Linked DNA regions of Homo sapiens: all the other regions are linked to region 5. The links are contacts of gene promoters, found by promoter capture Hi-C in blood cells and fetal thymus (Javierre and others, 2016). All regions are on one chromosome and are shown on one strand. The core of a region is centred on a gene start or on the middle of the fragment in contact, and the rest is flanking DNA. Distances in the headings are between cores, read along the strand shown.

Region 1 (3,897 bases), core at 1,036-3,535, 280 kb after region 5:
TTTGTTCTTTTTCTTTCAAACTTTTTTGTCATTATGTTTTCGTAGTGTCTTTTAGAATATATATGTATAATTTTTTTTTTTTTAGTGCAGTCTGGGATAATTTGCTTTTACTATCTGTGTGTATATTTTGTTCTCCTTTCTTGTCTTTTTTTGTTCAGTTTATTCCCTTTTATTTGTGCTCAACTGGTCTGGAGTTTATATGGTTTTGTGTCATTCTTCTAACTTTAAAAATATTCTCTTTCTTAGCAAATACTAAACTTAATCAGCATGTGTTCTTATTCTGAAGAATATTGAGACTAAAAAAAATCTGAAAGAAGATGGGGCCAGGTGCGGTGGCTCATGCCTGTAATCCCAGCACTTGGGGAGGCCTAGGCGGGTGGATCACCTGAAGTCAGGAGTTTGAGACCAGCCTGGCCAGCATGATGAAACCCCGTCTGTACTAAAAACACAAAAATTAGCCAGACGTGGTGGTGCGTACCTGTAATCCCAGCTACTCAGGAGGCTGAGGTGGGAGAATCGCTTGAACCTGGGAGGCAGAGGTTGCAGTGAGCTGAGATTGTGCCATTGCACTCCAGCCTGGGTGACAAGAGCGAAACTCTCTCTCTAAAAAAAAAAAAAAAAAAAAAGATGTACCTTTAAAAAAAAAAAAAAAAAAGCTATGTTTTTATAGGTCTACTTTTTATTATAACCACCCTCAAAATTTGTCATTATAGTTCTTTGGCTTTTTTTAAACAAAGATTATTATATTACCAATATAGTCACAAATGTTTTCTTACCATTGCTTTTTGCAGTCCATCTTTTAGGGTTCACATGGTTATAAATTCTCTTCATTTTTTTTTTCAGCTAAAATATTGTTTCTTTCTCATGTAAATAATCATCTAGTTGAACATAGAATTCAGGTTGACAGTTTCTTTATTTTGGAGGTAATATTCATTTGTTTTAAATCTCCATTCTGTTACCCTATTTCTGTCAATCTAATTGTTATTTCTTTTAGGTCAACTATATTTTCTTTCTAGGAGCTTTAAGGTTGTTGTTTCCAGTTCTTTATGTTCGTTTAGTCTTTTGCATTTCTGAGTTTTATTGTGATTTGTTTAGGGTATGTTTATTTTTATTTATACTGTTTAGAATTTCTATATGCGAACTTGTATCTTTTACCAATTGTGTGAAATTCTCAGCAATTGCATCTTGAAATTAAAACCTCTCAGTCATTCCCTCCATCCTGCCTTCTCTTCTCCCATTCCTGTTAGACAAATACGGAAGCCTCTCAATTTATCTTTCATGTTTCTTGATTTTTCGTTTGTGCTTTATCTTTCTCTTTGCTGTGTGTTTTTCTCTGTGCACATAAAATAAAAGAGATGTACCAATGATCGTTTCCAGGCTTCATGAAGTAAATTGACCCAGAATGATACGTTTTAGAAAACTGATAACAGTGTCAGTAAAATATTACTAGCTGGGCAACAAATTACTAAAAAGAAACCTTAAGTCAGATTTCGGCTTTTCAGAAATTAAAGGTGACTTTCATAGGAGAGCAATATTTGCAAGGCAAGTGTGTGATGCAAAGTATCATCTGCTTGTTTTTTTTTTTTTTTTTTTTTTGAGACAGAGTCTCACTGTGTCATCCAGGTTGGAGTTCATTGGCGTGATCTTGGCTCACTATAACCTCCACCTTCCAGGTTCTAGCAATTCTCATGCCTCAGCCTCCCAAGTAGCTGGGATTACAGACCCGCACCACCACGCCTGGCTGATTTTTTTTATTTTTGGTAGAGATGAGGTTTTGCCGTGTTGGCCAGGCTGGTCTCAAACTTCTGACCTTATGTGATCCTCCCTCCTTGGCCTCCTAAAGTGCTGGGATTACAAGCATGAGCCACTGTGCCAGGCCTGGCTAAACAGCAAGAAGCCATGAAGAAGCTTTTTTGTAACTATAAGAGAAAGGGACTCCTGGTTCTTAGAACTCTCCATCTACTTATTTAATCCTTGGAAAAACCCTATGAGGGAGGTACGATTTATGATTCTTACCATATCCTCATTGTACACATAACAGAAGTGAGGCACAGAGAGGGTTTTTAATATCCCCAAGGTTACACAGCTGGTAAGTATCATTTCTAGGAATTAAACCCAGATACTTGACTTGAGAGCCCTCATATGTTGTTACATTGCCTCTCGTTTCCTGCTGTCTCTGCCATCAGAAATCCTTGTAGCAAGGATGCTGCACTTGTGCAGACTGTTCACTGCCCAATGGCACTGAACTATCATGCCATTTAGTAGCTGGAATACAGTCCATGTTCTGCTTACCAAGCTGTATGTGGCTATACCTGTCTGAATGTAGGGCTATTTCTCTAATTTCCTCATATGTACACATGGGCTAACAGCAGGCTTGTGTCTCATGGCGTCTTTGGTCTCCCCCAGTTATGCCATCTCAGAACTATGACCTTCCCCAGAAGAAGCAGGAGAAAATGACCAAGTTTCAGGTACGTAAAGGATTCCTTGCTGTCTTTTAAAATGTGATTTATTTCTCAAAGATAACAGATTTATTTTTTCTCTTTCTTGGAAAGGTTAGTGGGAAACAGATATTCAGGACATGTGGTATGCTGACATGTATGTGTTTTTTTGTTTTAGTTTATCACCTTTACTATTTTACAAAACAGTGTTTGAAAAAATAATAGAAGCTTTAATCAGAAATAATCTATGCTACTACCCTGCTTATGAACTAGCTTTTTTCATTTTCCCATGTTCCTTTTTCATACACATTTTGCAATACTTGAGTAGATGAAATTTTCAATTGTGCATTCTCCACTTAATTGCATCACCTGCATTGTAAGTGAGTACATCATATGCCATTGAATTGCAGTGCCCTTAAAAGACAACAAAAACTATTTCTTATTTAGCCTTTCAGAAATTCAGAAATTTTAAGAATTTTACTACTTTAAAGTAAATCCAGTGACTTTTTTCCCTACATATAAAAACAATTCCTTCAAAAGAAATTCTGGTGGAATTCAATATTATTTGTCCTTAAAGTTTTAGGAACTCTGCATTGAAGAGGTTTATGTCTCAGTTTCATGTCAGTTCCCTCAGGTGTTTTGTAAACAGAACATCTAAAGAATGACATGGTGTAATTTTATTAGATGCTTTCAGAGAAGAAGAGCTATATATTTTTCCCGTTTATGTTTTTATCACTCATTTATTTCTTGTATGAATTTATTTCATCAAAGTAACTACATGTACGTAAGGTCTAGTAGTACTTAGATGTCTTGCTAGCCCTTTCCATCTGTCATTGCATTTTTCAGATGTGAGGATGGAGATGATTTATTTGCATTTTAAATATGAAGAAACAGGTTATGGGAACATTTTATAACTGCCCCAAATTTCCCAGGTAGCTGACTCATTGGACACTGAAGCTTCCAACTATTAGGAATATCTGGCATTCTATTTTCATGTAAAGGCAGACAGAACAAAAGAGTTTTCCATTCACAGAGATGAGCACATATGATAGAAGTACCTGATGTTACCTTTTTATTCTTTTGAGACAGAGTTTAATTCTTGTCACCCAGGCCGGAGTGCAATGGCATGTTCTTAGCTCACTGCAACCTCTGCCTCCCAGGTTCAAGCGATTCTCCTGCCTCAGCCTCCCAAGTAGCTGGGATTACAGGCATGTACCAGCACGCCTGGCTAATTTTGTATTTTTATTAGAGACGGGGTTTCACCACGTTGGCCAGGCTGGTCTTCAACTCCTGACCTCAGATGATCCACCCACTTCGGCCTCCCAAAGTGCTGGGATTATAGGCGTGAACCAGTGCACCTGGCCCTGATATTACCTTTTGGAGGATAGACCCCAACAATGCCCCTCATCCAGTTTCCATCTCAATTACTGTCTCTTCTCTAGTTTTGTCTCTTAGTCAT
Region 2 (4,244 bases), core at 627-3,126, 350 kb after region 5:
TAAAGACTCAACAGGTTTCTTGCCCTGCCACTTCCTTTTAAGGGGATAAATGTGACAAATTAACATGCCTGAAATCTGCCAAAGCTCCTTCTAAAGCGGCCTACATGGAGGAAAGACTACACATAGAAAAGCAACTTGACCTGAACCTGAATGAAAATAATGAAAGGAAACCAAGTATTAACAATTCAAGTTTACTAAGAAACTTTTTGTCATCAGTAACTACTTTTAACACTTTCAGAGTTACAGTACAGCTTAGTGTCCAAAAATTCTAATCATGTAAATTGCAGGGTCACATTAGATAAAAACAGTATTGTTCAGTCTATAAACTGACACTAAAAATCATACTGTACACAACTGATGATACACTGTACAAAGAACTAAGGCTGAAGGATGGGAGCCATTCATGTCTTTTTTCCAAATTTGTGTTAGTATGGATGGCAGTATTATATACTTTTCAGTACTTACTGAAACTAACGTTATTAAGGCTACTTGCAGGATTCCTTTTGAATATAAATTAATATAAATTTAGAGTAGAAAACAGACTAGAATTTTCAAGTATTTGTCCTAATTATAGGTATTTTCTTCACTTTCTTCAGTAATTGCTGGGCCCTATTATGAGCCAAGCACAATTCTACATGGTAGAGATAGAGTGGTGAAAAACACCTCCTTACATAGAGGTTACATTTTAGTTGACATCCATTTTTTCTGTCAATCATACTTTTGTTAAAGGAAGGCCTCTCTCCTGTGCAGACTCCGACAAGACTTTTCTGCTGTGTTACATCTTGAGAACCGGGACACCTGGTACTCTGATATAAACACTGATCATATTTACAGAACAAAGTTTTCTCGCATCTGTGAAATATGACGTTTGTAAAGAATTCATGTCCTAACCAAGTCTAAAACACAGCATTTGAGAGACTTCTTTCCTGTCAAGATTCTTTGAAGCTTCTAGTTTTAAAGGAACTTTTCACAATCATCAGCATGGACTTCCCAACGGAGACAAAGATGTGAGCTCTAACTGAAGGCTGAACCACACCTCTCATTTCTACAGATTCCCTCCAGTGTGGACTCTCTGATGGTAGATGAGATGTGACCTCTGACTGAAGCCCTTACAACAGACATCACATATGTAAGGCCTCTCTCCAGTGTGGACTCTCTGGTGTGTGTGAAAATGTGAGGCCTGACTGAAGCCCTTCCCACACTGCTGACACGTATAGGGTTTCTCTCCTGTGTGGACCCTCTGATGGGCACTGAGACCAGCACTCCAACTGAATTCTTTCCCACATTCCTCACATTTAAATGGTTTCTCTCCAGTGTGAATTATCTGATGGACTTGAAGATTTGACCTCTGGCTGAAGGCCTTACCACAAGTGTCACATTTATATGGTTTCTCTCCGGTGTGGACTCTCTGATGGGCTTGAAGGTGTGAGGCCTGACTGAATCGCTTCTGACATGCATCACACTTGAATGGTTTTTCCCCAGTGTGGACGCTCTGATGGGCTTGAAGATTTGAAGCCTGACTGAAACCCTTACCACACTCTTCACATTTGTAGGGTTTCTCTCCGGTGTGGACTCTCTGATGATTGTGAAGATTCAAGCTCCAATTGAAGCGCTTCCCACACACTTCACATTTGTATGGTTTTTCTCCAGTGTGGACTCTCTGATGTGCTTGAAAGTATGAACTCTGACTGAAGCCTTTCCCACACACGTTGCATCGAAATGGTTTCTCTCCTGTATGGACCCTCTGATGGCTCTGGAAACTTGAGGCTGAACTAAAACCCTTACCACACTCTTCACATTTATATGGTTTTTCTCCTGTGTGGACTCGTTGATGACTATGAAGATTAAAGCTCAAACTAAAGCACTTACCACACTCATCACATTTGTATGGTTTTTCTTCAGTGTGGACTCTCTGATGGGTATGAAGATTTGAGCTACAACTAAAGCGTTTACCACAATCCCCACATTTATATGGTTTCTCTCCAGTGTGAATTCTTTCATGGGCCTGAAGATGTGATCTCTGAGTGAAGCCCTTCCCACACACCTCACATTTATAAGGTTTCTCTCCAGTGTGAACTCTGCAATGAATGTTAAGATCTGTGCTACGACTGAAGCCCTTCCCACAACTGTCACATCTATAGGGCTTCTCTCCTGTGTGAATAGGCAAATGAGCATAAAGATGTGAGCTCTGATTAAAGCTCTTACCACACTCGTGGCATGTATAGGGTTTCTCCCCTGTGTGGACTCTCTGATGAGTTTGCAGATTTGAGCTCTGACTGAAACCTTTACCACATTCATGACACCAATAGCGTTTTTTCCCAGTACGAACACTTTGTTGAACAGGAATACCTGAGCTATAACTGGTGTCCTTCTCATGTGTACTACACGCTGGAGACTTCTTTCCCAAGTGTACCTGTTTATGAAGTTCAAGACTGGAGCTATCATTGAAGGCTTCTTCACATTCATTACCCTGGTAGGTTTTCTGTCCTGTGTGAATACTACGCTGGGTAAGAGGTGATACCTTTAGGGTATCTTTACCACAATCACTATTGCTATGAACTTTATCTCTTTTGTGCACTATATTATCATCATGGTGGTGTGAAATACAACTGAAAATGTCAACATATGGAGCAAATATACATAGTTTGTTTTTCATCTGAGTCTGCTTACAACTTCTCTGATAATTCTGTGTCTCATTCAGATATATTTTACTCCAAGAATTCGGAACTTTCCCAGTTGGAAATTCTTGATTTTCAATGATACTGGAATGATCCCCTATGTGATTCACTAGACAGTTGTCATCCACAGAAGCTTGAATAGATTCTCCTGCTCCCACTTGACAGGGGGAATCATGGTGCTTGGGGAACTGAGAGCTCTTTCCTTCAATATTTATCATGGAGTCTTGACTTCTGGCTAATTTGCTCGCAATGTGTCTCTTGATTTGCCAGCATGAAAGCTCTCCCAGTGAAAAGCACCTTAATCCTGCTTTGTGAAGAGTTGCCATCTCATTTTGATTCCTGTCTCCTGAAAGGATAGAGAGAATAAGGAATAAAGGACCAAGAGACTGACATTAGCAAAGTAGAGAATTAAGATCTAAGCTCTCATTTTCCCCATGGAAACGTCAAAAAAACAACTAGACTGGCTGAAATAAATTTATAGGAACTCTGAAAAGCAGCTGCAACCAAGAGAACACCAAATGTTTTAAAAAGCCATATTTAAGATAGAAAATTTGAGATCAGCCCAGGGTATGGTTAAGGTGTATCTTGGGTCTTTTCTGAGTATGAGTCTTGCTGCCTGTGTGTATTCTCCAGTATACACAACTCCAAAGTGAATGCTTTGTCCAGATGTTTCCAAATTTTACACATAGTTCCTTCGGTATCAGGCTTTAGTTCATGATGGAAACTTTCAGCTTATCTTTACCATCACAGATTTTCCTGGATTTTATTTGCCTCTCGAAACACAGAACTACAGATCTAAGAATAGGACAAGAGGTAGAAACCAGCCAACTGCAGAACAACAAAATGATATCTCAGTAAGTACTTAGAAAGGAAAAATTGACTTCTTTGCCTATAAGAATGGTAAATTAAAAGTCACCTCTTCTTTGGCTACAGCAACTGAATCGTAAGTAGCAACTACATAAATCAGGCAAAATATATGCCTCAATTATAGGCTCTCATTATACAACCTGCACATCTAGAAACATGCTCAAAATAACTGATAGACAAATCCATATTTATAGCTGGAGATTTCAATACCCCTTTCCAACAGCTAGTAAACCAAGTAGGAAGATATGTGGTGGCACTCATGTAACTGAGTCCGTGCTGTGAAAGGGACAGCTGCCCTGGCCCCTTGGGGGTCAGAAGTCACCATGCCAAGGGCTGTGTGAAAGGTGCTAAGTTCCACTGAGACCCAAGCTCCAGTTTTTGAGAAGCCAAAAGGAGGGAGCACCAGGCTTCCTTCCAACCAGTGGTGCTGGTATCCTCCAAGTTTCTTCCTCCAGGCCACCTGTGGATATGCCATCCAGAAACCAGTCCAGCCCAGCCAAGATGATGACCTGTCCCCTTATACGCTGCTCAAAGACTACCAGAACTTTCCCAGGATTGAGAGGGTTGATGACATTGGGAAAAGACACTTGTCTTTGGAAATGGCCAACCAGGAGAAGCCAAAAATTAAGCCAGAATAGTTGATAAAAAAGGACATGGCAAGCCCTGAGGACACCAGCTCCACAGAGGCTGGAATTATCG
Region 3 (3,813 bases), core at 751-3,250, 390 kb after region 5:
TTCTGCTAGGATGTCAGGGTGGAGTGCTGAATTAATCTGGTCAGGAATCAAGCTGGAATTGGGTTTTGTTGTTGCAATATTTATCTTAGTTGTACCATGGCTTCAAATTTCTCTAGTGTTACCTTGTGCTTAGGGTGGGAACTGGAGTGCTAAAGTTTTCTCAATGTTCCTGTTGCCCCATCCTCAGCTTTTGGCCATCCCTTGGCACCAGGGCCAAGAAAGATTCTCCATGTTCTTCCCTTTTCTCACGGTAGCCTGCTGTTGCTTCTCACTAGGAATAGGCTAGGGGACCAGCGGTGTCCTTTGTTGTCTTGGTTAGTCTCAGTTGTTAGTGGGAATTGGAGTGTCAGAGATTCTATGCATTTTGGGGAGCCAGAACCACACAGGACTAAAATGGTACAGAATATCTCTTCCTTCGGCTGTGAAAAGAAAGCAGGTGATGCTGCTATATTGTGAACAACATGAAGACAAGAATTCACAAGAAAAGAGAGGTGAGAGAATTAAAAGAAAGCAATATAAAATCCCCCTACCTTACCCAGACCCTAGTCTTACACTATCTGTATCTTTTCATTTATATGAACTAAGAAACAGTTTTGGTTTAGGCAACTCTAAATTTTCTGTTACTTAGAACTAAAAGCATTCCAATTGATAAAACCACCATGAGCTCTCCCCTGTAAGTGATGATATCAAAGACATGCTTTAGAAGCCCTGGATTTCTGATGATACTGTGCAACTTGAACCAGCACCTCAAAAGCCAAGTTATGCCAGTGCTTTGGTCATCATATTCATCCAGCAAGGGGAAATCTGATGGAAAAGCCGTGAGCATCAATTTATAAAACTGGATTGCACTAGGACATCCTAGGCAACATGGATTTTGAGACCTAAGGAAATTTCACAGAAATATAAAGTTATGGACACCTAATTTATCTGTATTCTTAAAAATCCAGGAAATTTTAAGAACTAACTTCAGGGGGTTTATTCTTTACTGTTGTTGGTCATAATGTCATACAGTGAAATCAAGCAATCATATCATGAGTTCTTAAGTATAAGAGATAATATATCAATAGCTGTTTACTGCTTTGGTGTAATTGGTAAATGTCCATTATAAATATTTTTAAATAAAGCACAGAAAAACTAAGCCAAAAATTTCTTTCCAGAGAAAACTACTGTGGATATAATAATGAGTAATCTTTCACACATTATCTATAAGCATATATTTGAACATACATGCACACAGGCTTAAATTAGCTGGCTATTATGAACGTACAGTCCAGGTTTTTACTAAACAATATGCATGATCCATTCTTGTCATTTTAGAGCTAAATCATACTTTCTGTAGATCCATAGTATAGAACATACAGAAACTTACCCAAATTCATATTGATGGACATTTACTTCCAGCTTAAAACATTACTATCATTGTAAAATCCTTTCTTACTGCTAAAATTGCTTAATTATAAATTACTGTTCTACGATTTCCAGATCGGTATGCACATTTTACATTCCGATATATATGGGGGGCTTGATAAGTATTTTGATATATATAGAACGACAAGCTTGTATTTTTCACTTTCGCCAACAAAATGCATCATTCTTGAAGACAGACACTAGCAAGTAAATGGCAACCCTATCCTGCTAGTCAATACATTGATAAATATGCTTAGAAAAATTCAAGATTTTCCCTTTTTTTGTGTGTGAGTGGGAGAAGTATGGGAATGGAAAACTTGACAAAATTAAAATCTTTCAAACTTGACCCTGCTTAAGGAGGTGTGGATTGGACAAAGGCTACAACATTTAGAAATCAGTCAGATCAAATGGACTTTTAGAGAAATATGGAGAATAAAAAAACCCCAAGTATTGTGATTTTGACATTTATTAAAAAGTATTTGTCATCAGTAACCATTTTGGATACTTGCAAATATTACAGTAAAACTCTGCCTTAATTCACAGGGCAGGAGTAGAAAATCAATTATGTAAAATACAGTGTTCCATTTTTGCAACATTAACCAGAAACATTGTTTATCAGTTTGTACTGATATTTCAAGTGCACACATGGGTACATATACACACACACAAAGCTAAACTTCAGCAGATGGTATAATGTATAGAGACCAAACGTTAAGAAATGCAGCACATCTCTGCTCAAGATGGAACAAAGGGTGGGAACTAACCCCAATAGGGTTACAATCAAATTAATGTTATTTCAGATCATCATAATGCTTATTGTTCTACATTTCAAATATTTACTTGAAATGATTTTATTAAGATTACTTGCAGGATTTCTCCTCCAAATACATTTTAAGTTTTAAAAAATGCGCTTAAAAATTTCAAACCTTTTACCTTTACATACTTTTAGTTATTTAGCAAAAAGTACTGAGCACCTACATTGCGTTATGAAATGTCCTAGTTTTGTAGACTAGCAATGAACAAAGTCCCTTCTTTCACCAAGCTTACATTCTAGAGAACATGGATTTAGGCATGCTCATCACTGTACTTTTATTAAATTCCTGACCATACTCATATTTTATAAGCCTTAGCTCCTGTGCAATGACTGATGTTAAAGTTCTAACAAAATCCCTCGTGAAACCCCTCTCATTAAATGTCTCTGTTGTGTGGTCTCCTGGCCATTATGAATGTTGAAGTTGGGCAGCAACATTACATTTTAATTTTTAAAAATTCTTTTTCTACTGAAAGAACTCTAGTGACTGGAAAATTTCAGCTCCCATTTGAGGACTTCAAAACAAAACAGAATCTTCATTTCTGTGTAGATTCTCTGATGAAGGGTAGTCCTTACCATAGTCTTCGCTTTTATAGAATTTATCACTACTATGGACTCTTTGATGAATGAGAAGACCTGAGCTCCAACGGAAACCCTTACCACATGCATCACATTTGTATGGTTTCTCTCCTGTGTGGACTCTCTGGTGAGCCTGAAGATTTGATCTCTGACTGAAGCCCTTTCCACATACCTCACATTTGTATGGTTTCTCTCCTGTGTGGACTCTGTGATGGGCTTGAAGACTTGAATACCCACTGAAACCCTTACCACACTGTTCACATTTATAGGGTCTCCCTTCCACATGAACCCTTTGGTGTGCTTGAAGGCGTGAACTCTCACTGAAACCCTTTGTACACACCTCACATTTGTATGGTTTCCCTCCTGTGTGAACCCTCCGATGTGCTTCAAGGCGCGAACTCTGACTAAAGCCCTTCCCACACATCTCACATTTATACGGTTTCACTCTAGTGTGGACTCTCTGATGACCTTGAAGATATGCTCTCTGACTGAAGCCCTTTCCACATACCTCACATATATATGGTCTTTCTCCAGAATGGACACTCTGATGACTCTGAAGGTATGATCTCTGACTGAAACTCTTACCACACTCATCACATTGGTATGGCTTCTCTCCCGTGTGGACCCTCTGATGGGCCAAAAGTGTTGAGGCCTTACTGAAGCCTTTACCACATTCTTCACATTTATAGGGTTTTTCTCCTGTGTGAACCCTCTGATGAATTTGAAGATTAAAGCTCCAACTGAACCCCTTCCCACATTCCTCACATTTGAATGGTTTTTCTCCAGTGTGGACTCTCTGATGGCCTTGAAGGTGTGAACTCCGACTGAAGCCCTTCCCACACTCCTCACACTTGTATGGTTTTTCTCCAGTGTGAACTCTCTGATGGCCTTGAAGGTATGAATTTCGACTGAACCCCTTCCCACATTCCTCACATTTATAAGGTTTTTCTCCAGTGTGGACTCTCTGATGGGCTTGAAGATATGAACTCCGACTGAATCCCTTATCACATTCCTCG
Region 4 (4,090 bases), core at 342-2,841, 420 kb after region 5:
GTATGGTGAGGGGTAATTATGAGGGAAGACATGAGGGGAGTTTTTGGGGTGATGGAACTGTTCTTTTTCTGACTACGGTAGTCGTTATACAAACTATGCCTGTGTTGTAATAGAATTGTATACCAAAAATAACAAAATAGTCAATGTCACTGTAAAAACATTTTTTAAAAACCTGTTTTAAAAACCTGGAAACACAACCTCAGTTATAAGGCATGGTCTATAAATGTTGTTACCATTTCTAACAATTTGTTTCTTAGGAATTTTTTTAGATTATCAAAACATAACCAATCATTGCTCTTCAACTCTTCAATACTCTGAAATAGTTGGTGGATTATATAACCTACCAATATTAAGTGAGATTAAGGAATATATCCAGGGGTTATTTCTATTCTATTTTGATACCTAATTCCAATTCCACACTGCAAATCCTTGATGCCAGCTGTCTGTTGAGTAGCTACTCTAACCATAAACCCTTAACAACCTTGTACGATGTGCTGGGCACATGGAGAAAAGTATGACATGGTCCCAGAAATAGAAGAACTTTCAGTGTATGGATTTAGATAAAGAGAAATAAGAAACAAAGAGCTATAAGACTTAGGCAAGGCAAACTCTATACTGGAACACAAAATTCATCACCATCCTTCTCCAAGGTACAATTCTCTTGCATCCCCTAGCTTCCTCAAGTAAGGACCATTCTGTAAGCTTCAACGAATGAAAACCTTAGAGTAGCTGCTGGCATTTCCCTTTCAAAGTCTTGGATATAAGCAATTTATGATCATCAACGTTTGGCAATTATGACAATCAATCAAACGATATTATACTAAGTCGATGTTAGAGATTTGCTTTAAAATACTGAAACAAAAAAAAAAGGGACAGGGAGTTGATACAAGACTGGCAAATGTTAACAAAGGTTGAAGCTGGGTGACGCTTCCACAGAATTATTTTAGTCATATTACATTTGGCTATGCTTACAAATTTCCATAGTAAAAACTTAAGGGAAAAATAAAAGCTATGAAGCCTATTTGGTTAAACATGGGTGAAAATCCAAAAAGAAGTCTACTGGAAGAGGAAAACATTGAAATATTAATATTGTTACTGTTATATCTTGTGGTTAGCATAATTTTTTTCTTTTACACTTTCTATACTTTCTTAATCTTTTACAATATGCAATAATTTATATAATCAGAATATGAACTATAAATATTTCAAATAAAATTAAATTACAGATAATTTTAAAAAATCAAAAATTCAAAGCTTATTAACCTTGCTTTCACGGTCCTCTAGTAAAATCCAAATATGTGTTCTGAAGCTGATACTAAACACATCAAGAACTAAGGCAATGGATGGAAACTATTTGAATTCAAATCCCAGCTCAGGCTCTTACCACCTGGGTGACCTAAAGATAAACCACCTATGCTCTATGTCTGTTTGCTTATCTTTAAAATGGGAATGGTGGTACCCAACCCAGGCTCAAAGGGCTCTTGTGAGGATTAAAGATGTTAATTCATATCAAACTCTTAGAATGATCAGCACTAAATGTTTAAATACTATCTTTATTACTCATGCCCAAGTACTCCCTCATCCGTTTCTGCATTTATTGAACAAATATCAGCGCATCTTCGAGCAGAATTTGCCAGTGAATGATGGAAATATCGTCTTCCCTGAAAAGAAAGGATGATAAGTACTACTCAGGTGAGACTCCGCTGCCAAGTGCCAAAGGGTCATTCCCTCCTTCTCCCTGCAGCCTTTTTCAAGAAGTCAAGGCTAAAGAAGGAAAGGAGGATGGGGGAAATCAGAACTCCTGCATGAATTACAATGGACTACCCAGACAGCCAGGAGTGATCCTGTCCTAAAGAAAAATCTCTCAGTGATCAGAAAAGGGCCAGGGATACTCTGCAGCTGGAGCTCTGACCCCATCCTGGGTTCACAGAAGCTTTCAGGGAACTGAGTCCTTCTCAGAAAATTAAAAAGTGCTAATAACAAGAGACCCATCTTCTACCACCTGTCAGGCTCTGTTCCAAGTCTTTTTATTTAACTCTCAAAAGAACTCCATTAGATAGATACTAGTACCATTTTAAAGAAAAAGAAACATAGGCAGAGAGATTAAGATACTCGCCTGTTATTATACTGCTAGGAAGTGGCAGAGCTGGTTGATGGTCAGGGGAAAGGGCTGGGGAAGTACAGAACCCAGGAGATCCCCAGTCCCTGCGATGTAGGATCTTGGACCCCCGGCGCTAAGTGGGGATGCGCCAGCTGCCCCACACTGGAGAAGGCTCATTCAAAGATAACACAAATCCCGCCCTTCGCCGCAAGTGGATTATCCTCCCCTAGAGCTACTGCCCGGTTGCTACTGGACCCCAACAAAACGAACATCAGTATGGACGGAAGGAGCAGGAAGCAGGGCGGGGAGCGCTCACCTTTCTGGGAGGAACGAAGGCCGCGGCCTAGCGTACCTGGGGCGGAAGTGGCTCTGCCTACCGAGACCTCCTGGACTACGCTTCCCAGAATTCCCGACGGGATCAGGGAGACGGCCTCAGCCTCCTAGAGCGGAAGTTACCCGACTACACGGGGCTCCCAAACTACATTTCCCAGAATTCCTAGAAAAACTCTCCACTTATCTGCCTGCCTAGGACGCAAGTACCGGGTGCCAAGCTGAGAGCCTGGATGATATTTCACATGTGCCGGTCCCAAAGGAATTCCTTAACTCCCCCTTCCTGGAACCGAAATGCTTCCAAAGACAGAGAGCTCGTATATATATTTCTCTGTTTTACCCAGCGGACCGTGCATGAAAGGCGCCTTTCCTGGCGCGTGTGTCTCTGACCCTGTGGATCTTCTGGACAATTCCCGGAATTTCTTGCAGGGTAGCACTTTCCCTTAAGTCGTCTCTTTCTCGTTTGGATAGTCAGTATTTGTATAGTCACTATTCTCTTTTGGTTAGCCATCCAATTTTATACTGCTAGTCCAGTTCTACTGCCTTCCCCCTAGAGTTTGAATTTATTTTTCTTCAAACGCGACACAAACCCAAATAAACTCAACCAAAGCGGACTTTACCTACCTACCTACCTACTTACCAAGAAAATATCCCATAAAGGAGAGAACAGAGAAGCTTGCAATACAGGAAGAAAAAAGAAAAGAATTACAGAATGGAAGCGATGTGTGCGCTAAAAATGCAGGTACTTAAAGGAAATTGGGCTGATTTGTACTGGACACCGAATTTAAGGAATACAGGATCTCAACCTTTCTTTGACTCGATTACCTTTTTATTCCATTTTGGTGTGGACGCGTCTGAAACTGATAGTGCTGCTGCTACCTACCATAATGTGTTTGTTGCAAGATCCACAAGAACGTGGATGCCAAGAATCCACAAAAAAACAGATGCAACCGTTGATGAGGCCATAAGCAGAAACAGTAAATGGTTCCCACGTTTCCTCTGCTTTAACTACTGATGATGAAATGCAAGTCATAAGGCAAATAGAAGGGCTGTACTGATACAGACAAAATGTTATTATTATGGGAAGGGATAAGTCTCTTGTAAAACCTCGAAATTTTTTTCTTCTTTGAGAAAAATCTATCACCTATTTTCACCCTGCTCTTGATATAGCAAATATTGTAAGTTGTCTTATGGAGGACAGGATGATTCAGGGAGGACGGTGAATGGGTTGACTCAATCCAGAAAAGGAAGAGGAAAATAAAAAGACATAACGACCAATCTGTGAAAATGCTCACGGGGTCAGGAGATCGAGACCATCCTGGCTAACATGGTGAAACCCCGTCTCTACAAAAAATACAAAAAATTAGCCGGGCGTGGTGGCGGGCACCTGTAGTCCCAGCTACTCGGGAGGCTGAGGCAGGAGAATGGCGTGAACCCGGGAGGCGGAGCTTGCAGTGAGCCGAGATCGCACCACTGCACTCCAGCCTGGGCAACAGAGCGAGACTCCGTCTCAAAAGAAAAAAAAAAAGACACTATTAAGAGATGAGACTATTTGATTCTTTATTTAACAACTCCTTTCCAAGGAAATGTTTCTGAAAATACATACGGTTTACATATTAAAGAGGATCAATCTGATAATAGGGGATTTTTTTTTATAAA
Region 5 (3,882 bases), core at 280-2,779:
AATGTTAATAATTATCTATATCCTAGTATTAAGGAAATTTGTAATATTTTATATTTCTGTATTTTCTACATCCTGTACAGAGAACGTGCATCTCTATGATCAAAATATGAACTACTAATATTGCTTAAAATTAAATGAGAATTCTTTCAAAATTTTCTAAAGTCTAAACTCAACCTTGCTTTCAAAATCTTCTACAGTAAAATTCCAACCTCCCTCCCCAACTTGATCTCAAATGGCTCCTCTGCAGCCAGTTTCCTATGATTATTTATATGGATCATTTATCTATTTTATTTCCTAATTCTAAATTGGGATTTCAAACTGTGAGACCAAGGGTATTCAGATGTAAGGAACCCAAGTCTAGGACACAAATCCCACTGTTCTTACTAGCACTGTGATATAGGAAAGTAAATTAGGCTCTCTCCATTTCCTCATCTGTATAATTGGTGTAATAACAGTACCCATATCACAATACCCACATCACCTTTGTAAGGTGAACAGAACCCACAACACAAGGCCTTTGTGAAGGTTCAGTGTGTTAGTTTTTATAAAGCCCTCAGAGTGATACTCAGCACCCAATGTTTAACTAGTGTGACTAATATTCATGTCACATTTTCTCCAATTATACAATAACGGAACACTTCTGTAGCAGAAACATTTGCAAGGAATGAAATACCTTCTCGCACTCGGAACAGAAGAGGAAGGTGAATGCTAGGTCCTGTCACAGTGGGGCTCTGCTGCCAGAAGCCAGGATGCTCTCCTTCCTCCTCTCCCGCAGCATTCTTTCAGAAGTCAGGGCAGGGGAAGGAAAGGAGGCTGGGAGATTGCACGATCTTGTCTGAGATCCTGGAAAATCCACAGAGGATAACTCCAGACGCCACCTGTTGAGTGATGCACTCTTTCTTAAAAAACGGGTCAGGCATAGTCCAAGAACAGCCTCCTTTCCTGCAGGAATCAGAAAGAAGAGCCAGGCGCTTGCTGAAAAATGAATATTTTTTATTATGATAGTTTTAATATTAACGGCCGACATGTTGCCACATTCCTGTACTATTCCATACACATTTTACTTGTACTATATTACTAATTGTCAAAACAAATATATAAGGTTAATATTTCCTTTTGCAGAAGAGGAAACTAAGACCAGAAACTAAGCACCGAAAGATTAAGTTCTCACCCAACGTTACACCGCTAGGAAGCTACAGAGCTGTGGGAGGTGGGGGAAGGCGGGTCGGGCCGCTGAGAGCCCAGGAGATCCTCAGACGCCTCCCCATTCAGGTCCACTTCCAACCAGGGGACTCCCGAACCGCCCCGAACGCAGCAGCTCCGGATACAGTAAGGCAATCAGCTGCCCAGCCATTCAACTCCGCCCTCCGCTGCTCGCCGCAGCGTCTTTTCCTGCTGACCGAAGTGCGAGCCCTGCTGATCCTACGACCAAACCATAAAAGTTAAAACAGGTCGCGGGGTCCCAGGACTCACTCACTTCCACGAGAGGAATGAAGGCCGCGCTCTCAACCTCTTGCCGCGGAAGTGCCCGGGAGAGCAGGGAGCTCTGGAACTACATTTCCCAGCATCCCCGGGAGGAACGGAAGCCGCTGCCCCGCCCCCTGGGCGGAAGTGCGGGCTTCGACTCCCACGGCCGAATCTTATTTCTCAGAATCCCCAAGGGGAGCGGGCTTCGTGTTCTCGTCCTCAAATAGTCGAAGTACCACCGAACCCACTGAGCACTGGGGTATAGGTTCCTATTTCCCCAGGGGAGCAAATAACAAAGCCGCGCTTTCCCAGAGCTGAAGTGCCCCCAAAAGTCTGGACCACACGTCCCAGAATCCTCTGTAGGGCTGAGCTTCCCGCCAGCCTGCAATTTTCCTTTTGAATTAGCGGGGGGAGTCTAAGTCATTGCTTGTAGAGCTCAGCCTGCTTTTTCCTTTTGCCATTGTTCCCTTTTATACGTGACAGAAGTTGCGAATATGAAAAAAAAAAAGGAAAATACAAAGGAATGCTATGTGTGAGCTAAAAACAGAGGTAATAAAAGAGGTGGCCAGAGCCGCCCAGAGCAACAAGCCTTTTATAATATGGGTATGGATTCATCTGTGATTAAAAATGCTCAAAAAAGGAGATGCAATCATCCAGCAGGACATGAAACAAAAGCAGCAAAATTCTCCACTTTTCTTGCGCTTAGTTTTCTTTCATTCGCAGGATACTGAAGAAAGTATTATAGTATTGAATAGGCTCTATCCTATATAAAATCTTGAAAACATTCAGTTCAGATTAAGGAATCACATCACTTCTTGCTCTCAGAATCAGGAATCTGTAAAGGTGTCTTATGATTTGCCAAAGTGTCTATGAATATTCAGTAAGGAGAGGGAGGTGAAGTGAGGGATTAAGACATGAAGTGCAAAAAATACAGAAAGCTATACTATTCACTTTTCTCCTAGGTAGAAACTAAATATTTTTCCAAGTTTATTATGAAAGGGTAAAGAAGAAAAAATGGAAGTTGACTACATAGGAGTAGCTGTAAACATCTGAACAATGTTCAATTTAGGCTGAGGCAGGAGACCAGCAGGGCGTGATTCCAAGATCAGATAAGAAACCTGCTGAAACCAGCAAGTGATGGAAAGCAACCTGTAAGTTCCCTTTGCTACCTATCAGTATAAGACACTCCCACCAGCGCCGTGACGGTTTATAAATGCCATGGCAACACCTGGAAGTTACCAACCCCTTTTCTAGAGATTTCCGAGTAACTCACCCCTTAATTTGCATGTAATGAAAAGTTGGTATAAATATACCCAGCCAACAGCCCATATGCTGCTACTCTGGGCACACTGCCTGTGGGCTAGTCTTGGTCTGCAAGGAACAGTCACTGAGCTTTTAACACTGTTGATTCGATAAACCTGCTTTCTTCCGCTGCTGGCTTGCTGTTGAATTCTTTCCTGAGCAAAGCCAAGAAACTGCCCTGCATCAATGCCATTTCAAAATCTGGATAAGTACTCTCTCTACTTTAGTAAGAGGAAGAGAGAAATGTAATCACCCAATGGACTCATCTTGCCCACTGCCCAGAGAGAGCCAATTTATCAAGACAGGAATTGCAATAGAGAAAGAGTTTAATACACGTAGAGCTGGCTAAATGGGAGACCAGGGTGAAGACTGAACTCTGCCGTTTTTTCTTTTCTTACTCAAATTCCTATCTAAGGGTCTGGGGAGTCAAGCCCTCCAAACCATAAAGTCTCATGAGAGGGGTTTTAATTTAACCCTATATAATGTGACTTACTTTCCAACCTGTCATAACACCTCATGACGGATAAGAAAGGAAATCAAAATACTTCAACCCCAAATATGTTTCATTGCCCTATCATGAAATAGCCCTGCAAAGTTGTCCTTTGTGGAGAAAAATCTACATTCTGTAGAGAATCTCCTTTCCTTTTTCCAGGCCATTTTTTCTGATCCAGGAGAGAATCAACTAAGAGTCTGACACTTTTTTTTTTTTTTAAGAGTTTTGCTCTTGTCATCCAGGCTGGAGTGCAATTGTGCAATCTTAGCTCACCACAACCCCCGCGTCCTGGGTTCAAGCGATTCTCCTGCTTCAGCCTCCCAAGTAGCTGGGATTACAGGCATGCACCACAATGCCCGGCTAATTTTGTATTTTTAACAGAGCCAGGGTTTCTCCATGTTGGTCAGGCTGGTCTCGAACTCCCAACCTCAGGTGACCTGCCTGCCTCGGCCTCCCAAAATACTGGGATTACAGCCGTGAGCCACCGTGCCTGGGCTACCTTTTTAAGTCTGATGAGAAAAATCTACGATCTCTTATTTCTGAAGACTGATACCTGGAAGCTTCATCTGCGTAATAAGAACCTTGGTCTCCACAATCTCTTATCCTAACCCAGACATTTC

The links. Contacts are between HindIII fragments. The CHiCAGO score rates a contact against its expected background, and 5 or more counts as called.
Region 1: a contact is called between a fragment that was not itself captured here and the fragment with the promoter of ZNF45 in region 5, in 12 of 17 cell types (naive CD8 T cells, total CD8 T cells, activated CD4 T cells and 9 more). The highest score is 9.9, in naive CD8 T cells.
Region 2: a fragment that was not itself captured here is called in contact with the fragment with the promoter of ZNF45 in region 5 in 2 of 17 cell types (naive CD8 T cells and activated CD4 T cells); the score reaches 6.7 in naive CD8 T cells.
Region 3: a contact is called between a fragment that was not itself captured here and the fragment with the promoter of ZNF45 in region 5, in 3 of 17 cell types (M2 macrophages, erythroblasts and activated CD4 T cells). The highest score is 10.5, in M2 macrophages.
Region 4: a contact is called between a fragment that was not itself captured here and the fragment with the promoter of ZNF45 in region 5, in 1 of 17 cell types (M2 macrophages). The highest score is 6.0, in M2 macrophages.

What each region holds. Positions count from the first base shown.
Region 1 is chr19:44,215,385-44,219,281 of GRCh38, forward strand. It overlaps ZNF227 (zinc finger protein 227), which reads left to right. Exons shown (of 6, transcript NM_182490.3): 3 at 2,407-2,468. The coding sequence starts at 2,409. Among named protein-coding and RNA genes, the nearest start is that of ZNF227, 4.8 kb to the left of the region's middle. The HindIII fragment of the contact is 758 bases long and covers 1,907-2,664 here.
Region 2 is chr19:44,286,173-44,290,416 of GRCh38, forward strand. It overlaps ZNF235 (zinc finger protein 235), which reads right to left. Exons shown (of 5, transcript NM_004234.4): 5 at 176-3,024. The coding sequence ends at 1,046. Among named protein-coding and RNA genes, the nearest start is that of ZNF235, 17 kb to the right of the region's middle. The HindIII fragment of the contact is 1,866 bases long and covers 944-2,809 here.
Region 3 is chr19:44,324,698-44,328,510 of GRCh38, forward strand. It overlaps ZNF112 (zinc finger protein 112), which reads right to left. Exons shown (of 4, transcript NM_013380.4): 4 at 1,858-3,813. The coding sequence ends at 2,736. Among named protein-coding and RNA genes, the nearest start is that of ZNF235, 22 kb to the left of the region's middle. The HindIII fragment of the contact is 893 bases long and covers 1,555-2,447 here.
Region 4 is chr19:44,354,209-44,358,298 of GRCh38, forward strand. ZNF112 (zinc finger protein 112) reads right to left here and starts at 2,472. Exons shown (of 4, transcript NM_013380.4): 1 at 2,418-2,472. RefSeq lists an enhancer at 2,281-2,781. The HindIII fragment of the contact is 679 bases long and covers 1,253-1,931 here.
Region 5 is chr19:43,933,753-43,937,634 of GRCh38, forward strand. It overlaps ZNF45 (zinc finger protein 45), which reads right to left and starts at 1,530. Exons shown (of 10, transcript NM_003425.4): 1 at 1,172-1,530; 2 at 674-942. ZNF45-AS1 (ZNF45 antisense RNA 1) reads left to right here. Exons shown (of 3, transcript NR_184050.1): 3 at 1-2,062. The HindIII fragment of the contact is 8,828 bases long and covers 1-3,820 here.